Regions from separate parts of the Homo sapiens genome. Here region 1 is linked to region 2. Evidence: promoter capture Hi-C in 16 types of primary human blood cells and fetal thymus (Javierre and others, 2016). All regions are on one chromosome and are shown on one strand. Each heading gives the region's core, a stretch centred on a gene start or on the middle of the fragment in contact. The rest is flanking DNA. Distances are from core to core; before and after follow the strand shown.

Region 1 (5,306 bases), core at 1,821-4,320, 48 kb after region 2:
TATGTGTTTAGAAACTAGGGTAACTTAGAATATTGGGACTGAGATATGAAGGATTCACTTCCTATCTTTTTTTAATGATTTAATCAGCCAGCTAATGCTGCGTAACTACTTCAAAACCCAGTGCCTTGAAACTCCCACATTTATGAGTCAGCTGGGAAGTTCTGCTGATCTGGGCCAGGCTGGTGTCAGCTGGGCTCACCCATGTAGCTGCAGCCAGTTGGTAGGTCAGCTGGGGGCTGGCTGGTCTAGGAAGGTCCTGTCCATATGTCTGGCAGTTGGATGGGGCTAAAAGTGTGTGTGCCTCTCATCATCCAGCAGGCTAGCTTGTAGCAGCAGCAACACTCAAAGAGGCAATGGAAGCATGAAAGTCCCCCTGAGCCTAGGCTTGGTGCTGGCACACCATCACTTCCACACATTCTTTTGTCCAAAGCAAGTTACAAGGTCAGCCCAGAGGAAATAGACCCCTCCCACACTTTGTGGACACAAGGAACTGTGCAAAGGTCGTTGATACATGGGGAGGTAGAGAATTGGGGGTTAGTTTTGCAAGCAACCTATCACAAAAGCTTAGGTCATTTTAAAATTACAATATAATGTAGTTATACCAATCTATATAACTATATGTGTGGGGTACTCTTCTAAGTACTCAGCATATATTAGCACATTTAATCTTTACAACAACTCTATGCGTTGATATTGTTACTATTCCCATGTTACAAGTGGAAAAACTGAGGTACATAAATGTTTAATAATTTGCTCAAAATCATACAGCTAGTAAGTTGCACAGCCTGTCTGCTTCCAGAGTCCATGCCTCAAACATTACCCTATGCTAGCTCTCTTATTAGCATTGATTTGAAAAATAGAGTGTTTATTACTTGGTCTAAACCAGCATAAAAGGCTCACTTGAGAGAAAATTATAGAAACTGACCTCCTATAATGGGGACTATTTATTCAAACCATAAATAAGGAAAGTTAGCTCTTGCTATAGTATTATTTGCTGGGTAGAAAGTTTACTTTATTCTTACTTTAATTCTAAACTAAAAAGGGAAACATGCAGTTTAAATTTTTTATGAATAGATCTCATATAACAGTGAGATTGGACACGTACCTTTTAAAAACATAAAAGAAAACAGAGAGTAGCTGATATCAAAATTATCAAGGAAGTAATTTGGCATATAGGAGAGGGCCCTGATTCTAAGTCTTGTGATCTCCCCAAGATCAATTTTTTTCATCTAGCACATAGCTTTATTAATGTGGCTTTATGAGGATGAAATGTAATAGTGCATGAAGGACACTTTATTTATTATTATTATACTTTAAGTTCTAGGGTACATGTACACAACGTGCAGGTTTGTTACATAGGTATACATGTGCCATGTTGGTTTGCTGCACCTATTAACTCATCATACATTAGGTATTTCTCCTAATGCTATCCCTCCCCGTCCCCCACCCCATGACAGGCCCCAGAGTGTGATGTTCCCCGCACTGTGTCCAAGTGTTTTCATTGTTCAGTTCCCACCTGTGAGTGAGAACATGCGGCATTTGGTTTTCTGTCCTTGTGGTAGTTCACTCAGAATGATGGTTTCCAGCTTCATCCATGTCCCTGCAAAGGACATGAACTCATCCTTTTTTATGCCTGCATAGTATTCCATGGTGTATATGTGCCACATTTTCTTAATCCAGTCTATCATTGATGGGCATTTAGGTGGGTTCCAAGTCTTTGCTAGTGTGAATAGTGCTGCAGTAAACATACGTGTGCATGTGTCTTTATAGCAGCATGATTTATAATCCTTTGGGTATATACGCAGTAATGGAATCACTGGGTCAAATTGTATTTCTAGTTCTAGATCCTTAAGGAATTGCCACACTGTCTTCCACAATGGTTGAACTAGTTTACACTCCCACCAACAGTGTAAAAGCGTTCCTATTTCTCCACATCCTCTCCAGCATCTGTTGTTTCCTGACTTTTTAATGATTGCCATTCTAACTGGTGTGAGATGGTATCTCATTGTGGTTTTGATTTGCATTTCTCTGATGACCAGTGATGATGAGCATTTTTTCATGTGTCTGTTAGCTGCATAAATGTCTTCTTTTGAGAAGTATCTGTTCATATCCTTTGCCCACTTTTTGATGGGGTTGTTTGTTTTTTTCTTGTAAATTTGTTTAAGTTCTTTGTAGATTCTGGATATTAGCCCTTTGTCAGATGGGTAGATTGCAAAAATTTTCTCCATTCTGTGGGCTGCCTGTTCACTCTGATGGTAGTTTCTTTTACTGTGCAGAAGCTCTTTAGTTTAATTAGATCCCATTTGTCAATTTTGGCTTTTGTTGCCATTGCTTTTGGTGTTTTAGTCATGAAATCCTTGCCCATGCCTATGTCCTGAATGGTATTGCCTAGGTTTTCTTCTAGCGTTTTTATGGTTTTAGGTCTACCATGTAAGTCTTTAATCCATCTTGAATTAATTTTTGTATAAGATATAAGGAAGGGATCCAGTTTCAGCTTTCTATATATGGCTAGCCAGTTTTCCCATCACCATTTATTAAATTGGGAATCCTTTCCCCATTTCTTGTTTTTGTCAGGTTTGTCAAAGATCAGATGGTTGTAGATGTGTGGTGTTATTTCTGAGGCCTCTGTTCTGTTCCATTGGTCTATATATCTGTTTTGGTACCAGTACCATGCTGTTTTGGTTACTGTAGCCTTGTAGTATAGTTTGAAGTCAGGTAGCATGATGCCTCCAGCTTTGTTCTTTTTGCTTAGGATGAAAGACACTTTAAAGTGCCTCAAGTGCTTTACGTAATTTCAAATTGTTACATTTTATCTGAATCCTGTTATTGTAACCATGTTAGTAAAACAGTTTTATGCTATTGTCTGACAGATATTTTTATAATAAAGTAGTCACTGAGGCTGACGTTTATATCACATTTGGAATAAGAGAAGACTTAAAAGATGATCAAAAAGAAATGATGCAAACAGCAATGCAAAACACAATGGTAAGATGTTAAGACACAGTCACTCACACCTACAGATGCATCCAGAGGTGAGAGATGAGAAGTTACTTAAAAACCATCTAGTCCAATCCCCCATTTTAGATAGGTTGAAACTTAAAATCCTCCATTGGCTTCCCTTTGCCTTTAGGGTAAAGTTCATTTTCCTTGGCATCAGCCTCCCTTACCAGCTGATCTCATGCCCTTTCCTCCCTCCCTCCCCTTTGTATTAATCACTCCAATTTCTCTAACTGACCAAAGTCTCTCTTGCCTCCAGGTCTTTACAATATCATTTATTCTGCTTGAAAATGCTCTTTCCCATTGTCACCTCCTGCCCCTTCTTTGCCTGGCTAATTCCTTCTCATTCTTTAAGTTTCAACATTGACAGCCTTTCTCTGGGAAGCCTCCCCTGACTCTTCTACACTAGGTTAGCTGCCCCGGCTGTATAGCCTCTTTTCTTAACACATTCTTCACATTTCATTGCAGCGGTTCTCAACTAGGGGTGATTTTTTATTCCCAAGGAGACATTTGGCAATGTCCAGAGACATTTGTGGTTGCTACTGGTGTTTACTAGGGAGAGGCCGGGGATGCTGCTAAATTCCTACCATGCACAGGGCAGGCCCCTACAACAAAGAATTATCCTGTTCAAAATGTCAATAATGCTGAGGGGTTGAGAAACCCTTCTTTACTGGAATGGCTTGTTTACTTATCTATCATTTTCAATATTAAACTATTTGTGAGTCTGAATCATTTCCCTTATATGCCCAGAGACAGCATAGTTTCTTGCAAGGAAATATTCATGAAGTTATTTGTCCATAGTTTAGGGCTAATGATTGCTGGAACTGAGATTAGGGCGCTGGTTCCCTTTCCCTTATTCAGCATTCTTTACATTATACCACAGATGATATGAGTTCATGTCATTTTTGCTCACTTTTTCGTATTCATTTGGTTTGCATCATCAATCATTTATCCTCTACAATCTTATTAATTCAAGATGTAAATTAAATGCATTTTTAAAATGCAAAATTCTATGCTAGACACTGGGATGTAAAGCTAAATAAGACAAAAATGCCTGCCCTCAAGTCGCTCAATTTTATAAGAAAAAATAAGGCAAAGTTTATTTTACTGTTGTGTTAATAATTAAATAATATAATATGACTTAACCCCACATCCCTTTACTCATTGTGTGTTTTAAAATTAGTATTTAAATTTGTAAGCAGTGAAGTACAAATTAAATATTATAAAAACCAACAAACTCTCAGTTAAGGGCGGAAGTACGCTGAGAGGCCTATAAAGATGAATGATGACGCAGGAATTGGAAGAAGTCGTGTTTGTCAGCTATTACCAAAAAGACCTGTTGGACCATGTGATGTTCAAGACCCTTCTACTTCTATAATTCTATACAAATAATTAGAAAATAACATCCTGGGCTTAATCGTGGACTCGGTTATCTACTTTACTTTTGACACTAAACCATTCTTCTGACATTTACCTTCAATTTAGAGGTTAGTAAAAGCAGATTTTATTAATTTTTCCTTATAAGTTCTTCTCCGAAATAACTCCTCCTTTTTCTCCTTTTAAAAAGTTGATAAATGGAATTGCTCAAGTCACATTTGATTCTGAAACAGCAGTCAAAGAACTGTCATACTACAGTTTAGAAGATTTAAACAACAAGTACCTTTATATTGCTGTAACAGTCATAGAGTCTACAGGTAAGTGTGTGTGTGTGTGTGTGTGTGTGTGTGTATACTTTCTTTTGAAAAATATTTAGACAGAATATTAAAGATATAAATAATTTCCAATTTCTATAATTATTTCACATTGTATTTTCTTTCATAGTTAAATATAATTATAAGAAGTAGACTTTTATATAGTTATAAAAAGGCAGTAGGGCTCTGCTTCTTTTTAGTCATTGGACAAGCCATTGGGTCCCTATTACCTCCACTTCTACTGCAAAAATGGGAAAACAGTACCCAATTCATGTCCAAAGTAGTTCTGCAGGCTCTCTGCCTTGACCATTTGGCACCCTAGTGTCCTCACGTGGTGAAAATCAAAACCAAAATAAGATTATGTGTGTAAAACTATTTGATAAAGTACTATACAAATAAAAGTTATTACTATTATCATTATTATAGTCTACATAATGATGGAGTCAAACTGAATGTTTCCTAAAGCCTAAAGTTTTCAACATTATTTTAATGTTTCTTCTTTTTATTTTTTCCTCAACTTATTTTAAATAAGTTCAGTTTAAGCAGTATCTATGAGATATTTAAAGTATTGCCAAACAGACAGGCTTGCAAACATTAATGATGTATGATGCCAGCACT
Region 2 (5,475 bases), core at 1,108-3,607:
AAGCAAGCAATGGAAAAATGAAGACAACTGAGAGGTAGGCTAGGGCGAGTAAAGGAGCAGGATAAAGAGAAAAAAAAAGCAAATAAAGTTCAGAGCTGCAGTTGTATTTTAAAGGCTGTCTGCAGAGCAAGAGAAAGCCATTGGAATGACATGATAATCAGAATCCTACGTCCAGGCAACAAAACACTACCCATCCTGCCACCTATAAACCCAGATAGTTGCTCTGATCTAACAATTCAGTCCATCACAGCTTAGTACAGACTGCAAACTCCACCTCCATCCAGCCTTTCCTAACCTTCCTAACTTCCCATCTTCTCTGATCTCCAAATAACGCAGACCTCCTTCTGTCTCTCTACAGACTCCCTAATATGCAAATACCCATCCCCATTTATTAACCCCCATATCCCTCTCCTTAGCCCTTTAATTGGATTTCAGTACTTTCCAAGTCTACTTCATCCCATACCCTCTGACCTACTGAAATACTTTTACTCCTTAATCTTCTCCTCCTTTCAAATATCCTGATTCCGATTCCTCTGCAAAGTCTCCAGCCATTTTTCTTTCCAAAGCCAATTCCCCCATTCTGTGCTGCCCACCCACCTCTGCCTCCCATTCTTCTTTATCCCATTCTGATTGCCAATTTTCCCACAAATTCTATCCCAGTTCCCTAACACAGTAATAGTCTCCCCCATTTCTCTATGGTTCTTTCCTGTGCCCAGACTCAACATTTCTCTATCCATCCAGACTTCCCAAGCTGCTCATCTCTCTTCACCCCAGAAAATACCCTGACATCCTAATGCGTTCCAATACTCTGACCTCCAATTACTCCCCTCCCTAAACAAAATACTCAAACCTCCATCCATTCCTCTTCATCCCAACCCAACTGCCTGCCTATTTGCCTTTCCATCCTAATACTCTAGCCCCCGTATCCTTCTCCATCCTATTAAAAGCCTGAATCCCCTCTCCCATCTCTCTTCTTCTGCTCAGATACCCTAAAACTCAAGCTTCCCATCTCTTTCCATTAATTATTCAATTTTATTGAGCAACTTTTATGTAGGAAGAACCATGCTAGAATCTAAGCTCAAGATGCAGAAGATTTTATCTCCCTATTACCCATGATCTCTGCACCAAGCAGTCTCCTTCATAGCATTTTATAACCATTATTTGTGAAACTACTTGGTTGTTGCCTGTTTCTCCTTCTAGACTATAAGCTACAAGAGAGCAGAGGTTTTGTCTGTTGTTCTATAAACAATAAATATTTGTTGACTGAAGGACTGTACTAAACACTTAGACAATACCAAATTTAAATCCTCAAAGATTTAGCTGTATAGGATCAGAATTATTAACCTGATTTACAAATGGCAATGTACCTGAACAGTTAAAAGCTTGGATTCTGGAACGAAACAGCCTGAGTTCAAATTCTGATTTTCCACTTACTGTGTGATCTTAGGCAAATTACTTAACCTCTCTGGTCCTCAGTGCTATCACTTTTTAAATGGGGATGATAACCTCATACAAGTTATTTTAAATTCTAAATGAGGTTAATACGTGCAAAGTGCTTAAAACTGGATCTGACAAATAGTGAACACCCAAAAATGATTCGCAATTATTTGGACAAATGAGGAAACATGATCAGGAAGGCTCAGACACATATCCAGGGTCACAGACCTGGTTAAGTTACACAAGGTGGCAGAATTGAGGCTTCAACCCAAGTTTGTCTGGCTTCAAAATTCTCTAGTCCCTTAACGAATATAACGGAAGTGTTTGTTCTTCCCCTTCTTTTAGCATTTCGTCCCCATATCCTGTCATCTTTCTCCACGCACTGTACTCCGTCCGATACCGTGACAACCCGTCAGGACGCCCAAACTGTCCTTTCTCCCGCTCACTCCCCACAGACAGCTGGCACATCCCAGCTCTCCCCTCAGCTCAGGTGGCAGGACCCACAACCTTCTGGGCGCCGCACCCTAACTTCCACACCTCCCCACACTCTGGTTCTTCATCCCCAATCGCCCCCGCCGTCCCCACCTCTTCCCATCCAAACCTCCCTCCTTCATCCACCGCCCCACGCCCGTTCCGGGCCCTCCCCTCTTTCCCGTCCAATCCCAATTCCCAGACACGCGCCCCCGCCCCGAATCCATCCCAAGCCGGCCCACACCACGCCCGGTCCGGGCCTTCCCGCCTTTGCCGCCGGCCCCCACTGCTCGGGCCGGATGCCGGGGAACGGGCTCGGCCAGGTCTGACGCTCACCGCCTAGAAGCCGAGCCGAGCAGTCCCGCAGGCTGAGGTAGAGCGGGAGAAGTTCGGGCTCTTTCCTCAGGGGCCCAGCGGCGCGGCAGCCATTTTGTTGTGTTGTGCCGGTTGCCGAGGGGCCGCGCGCGCGTGGTCGGGGCTAGTCTCAGCCACGCCCCTCTCCCTCTCCGGTACTGTTGGAAGGGACGCGGAGGCGTTTCCCGCCTCTTTTGCAGCCAGCGCGCTAGGATGCCGGGGAGTCTTGGGCGCGAGGCTTCCGGCCGCGCGGGGCCGACGGGATGCGGTGCCTTCGCCTTCGGATTGCGTTGCAGGTGAAGTGTCGGGTGCAGAGTCAGGGGGAGCCGAGGTTTCATGCGGCAGCTGCCCGCAGTGCTGTGGCCTTCGCTGAGACAAAGCTGCCGCCGCCACCCTCTGAAACACGGACACGCTTCTCAGGGCCTGTGTCCGAGGACGGCCTGAGGCACCGGCGCAGCGCCTCCCCGGCCTCCCCCACTTCTGATGCTTGCGCGCTATGAGCGAGTGTTCTTATCAGCACACTTCTCTCTGACAGTCGTATCTAAAGCGAATTCCCTCCAGGGACCGAACTGCCCAGGCTCGGATGAACCTCAAAGCGGACGCAGCCTGGGCTCCAGCTGTCGCGTGAGGTTCAGGGAGCTTGGGAATCCTAGGCAGAGGATGTTCCTCTGATTGCTACAAGGGAGTTAAAGCAAGAAGCACTTGCACAGGCTTCATCTGGGGCTTGCCCATGAGCACGGCGTTCACGACATGCATTCAACAGATATTTTAAAGAATTTAGCAGATACTGGGCTGGATGCTAGGGAAACACTGAAGTTTTTTTTAAAGTGTTATCACCATTGACGCCTTTCACTCCAGTAGCCTCCCGTTTTGAAGGTATACCCTGGACCATGTTACCATCAGAGGCTGCACCCGCTCCAGAAATCCCCAGTGCAATCGCTCCCCATCCTTGACTATAATCCTATCATCTTAGCAGCGTGCCTGCTCAAAAGACCCCTATGCCAGCGTATTTCTAAACTTCCTTGCGTCTTCCAGTCCCTTGTTCTTACCATTTTCTCGCGATCATTCTATCCTGTCTTCATTTCCTTTCTTCACTACAGAGTTTATAGGCCACCTGTATAACACTTTTAGAAACTCCCTCTCTCTCTGTGTCTCAGTTTCCTTATCTATGAAATGAGGTCCTTTTACCTATTAACACTTCCTACAGTTTTCCTGATAATTATAAAAGTGAATCCTGGCCGGGCGCTGTGGCTCATGCCTGTAATCCCAGCACTTTGGGAGACCAAGGTGGGAGGATCACTTGAGGTCAGGAATTCAAGATCAGCCTGGCCAACAAGGTGAAACGCCGTCTCTACTAAAAATACAAAAATTACCCGGGCGTGGTGGCGCACGCTTGTCATCCCAGCTGCTTGAGAGGCTGCAGGAGGATCGCTTGAACCCGGGAGGCGGAGGTTGCAGTGAGCCGAGATCGCGCCACTGCACTCCAGCCTGGACGACAGAGCGAGACTCCATCTCAAAAAAAAAAAAAAAAAAAAAAAGTCCAGTTTTCCTGATAATTATAAAAGTGAATCTCTGTGAAAGAACTTAGAACAGTGAGGGACCCATAGTAAGTTCTCAATATGTCTTAGATATTTCATTATTAGACAAAGGTTACCCAGAAGCAATACTTCTTTCTACGCCCAAAAGAAGAGTTTAGGCAAGGAGTAGGGAGGTGGGGAAGAATTTGCTTGGCAAAGGGAACAACTTGTGCAAACCCCGGAAGCGGGGGAAAAGAGCTTGGCAATGTGCTGAATGTTAAGTAATTCAGTGTGGCTGGAACAAAACATGAGTATGGAAACATGAAGTAGTTCAGTATGGCTTGTGCAAAAATCTGGGGTGGAGAAGCTAAATCTGGAAAAGGGACCATATTATAAGCAGTATTAGGCACTTCATTTTTCCTTAAGGCAGAGATGGCTTCACCTCTATAGGAAATTCAGGGGACGTCCAACAGGGAATAAGCTGCAATAAACATGGGGATGCAGATGTGTCTTTGATTTACTTTGATTTACTGATTTCCTTTTCCTTTTACTTAAATGTGATTCCCATTGACATTTAAGTGAATGGTGCTGTCCTCTCCCCAACTATTTACACGACACAGAACGAAGCCCTTGGAGTTTAAACGCAGAATTTTTGAAAAGCTCCACTTAAGAGGAGATTACATTCATTTTTTTTCTTTTCTTTTTTTTTTTTTTTTTTTTAATTTTTTGAACAGAGTCTGGCTCTGTCACCCAGGCTGGAGTGCAGTGGCAGGATCTCGGCTCAGTGCAACCTCCGCCTCCCGGGTTCAAGCGATTCTCCTGCCTCAGCCTCCCGAGGAGTTGGGATTACAGGCACGCACCACCAAGGCCAGCTAATTTTTGTATTTTAGTAGAAACAGAGTTTCACCATGTTGGTCAGGCTGGTCTCAATCTCCTGACCTCACGTGATCCGCCCGCCTCGGCCTCCCAAAGTGCTGGGATTACAGGCGTGAGCCACCGCGCCCTGCCGAGATTACATTCATTTTTAATCGAAGTTCAGGTGATATTTATTAGATTGGAATGTGTACGTTGCTGAGTTTCAGTTCTATTTGCATATGTTTTGACACCCATCGTTTCGGTTTCTTGTACCCAGAAACTTAGATTTATTGCGTAACCTCATTGCTGTGTCCCTCAAAGTCTGTAATGGTATTCACGTGGGATCCATTATCAAGCCGTGGTGTGCTGATGTAGTTCATTATCAATCATATTAGTATCAATTAATAGCCATCAAATATACATAAAAAGTCCAGAGGGTGGCGCAAAACACTTTTCTCTTGGGTGATCTCTCAGTCCGTATCCAGTTAGCCGCGGATGGGCACTCACCGGTCCCATGTTGCCCCCTTTTCCTCCTCATACAGACCTCTGCTGGTGTCTAGCATCATCTCTAACGAAGCTAGAGACTTCAAAGGAGAGACCTTTCTCCAGTTAATTTGAATATTAACTGTCTCTCTTAGCATGCTAAAAGAACTTCCTTCTCCAAAGCAGAAGTGAGAATACGAAAGTAACGCAGACAACTCGCGTTCCACACTATTTTTCTTTATCTGATATTATGAAGAATGTACTCTGAGTTGCATTTACAATACAAATATTAGCCACGTCAGGGTGACCAAGCTTTTACTCAGTCTTTTTTCCAAATGATAGCAAAGCTATTCTGTTT

Evidence for each region. The method cuts DNA at HindIII sites, captures the fragments that hold promoters and counts their contacts. A CHiCAGO score of 5 or more calls a contact.
Region 1: a contact is called between a fragment that was not itself captured here and the fragment with the promoter of CNTRL in region 2, in 2 of 17 cell types (naive CD8 T cells and naive CD4 T cells). The highest score is 5.2, in naive CD8 T cells.

Annotation. Positions count from the first base shown.
Region 1 is chr9:121,024,839-121,030,144 of GRCh38, reverse strand. It overlaps C5 (complement C5), which reads left to right. Exons shown (of 41, transcript NM_001735.3): 8 at 2,871-2,985; 9 at 4,565-4,691. Among named protein-coding and RNA genes, the nearest start is that of C5, 23 kb to the left of the region's middle. The HindIII fragment of the contact is 5,010 bases long and covers 566-5,306 here.
Region 2 is chr9:121,071,837-121,077,311 of GRCh38, reverse strand. CNTRL (centriolin) reads right to left here and starts at 2,357. Exons shown (of 44, transcript NM_007018.6): 1 at 2,245-2,357. It also overlaps a transcript of C5 not described here. RefSeq lists silencers at 1,953-2,092, 2,213-2,272, 2,897-3,093 and enhancers at 2,393-2,782, 5,136-5,185. The HindIII fragment of the contact is 4,047 bases long and covers 1,385-5,431 here.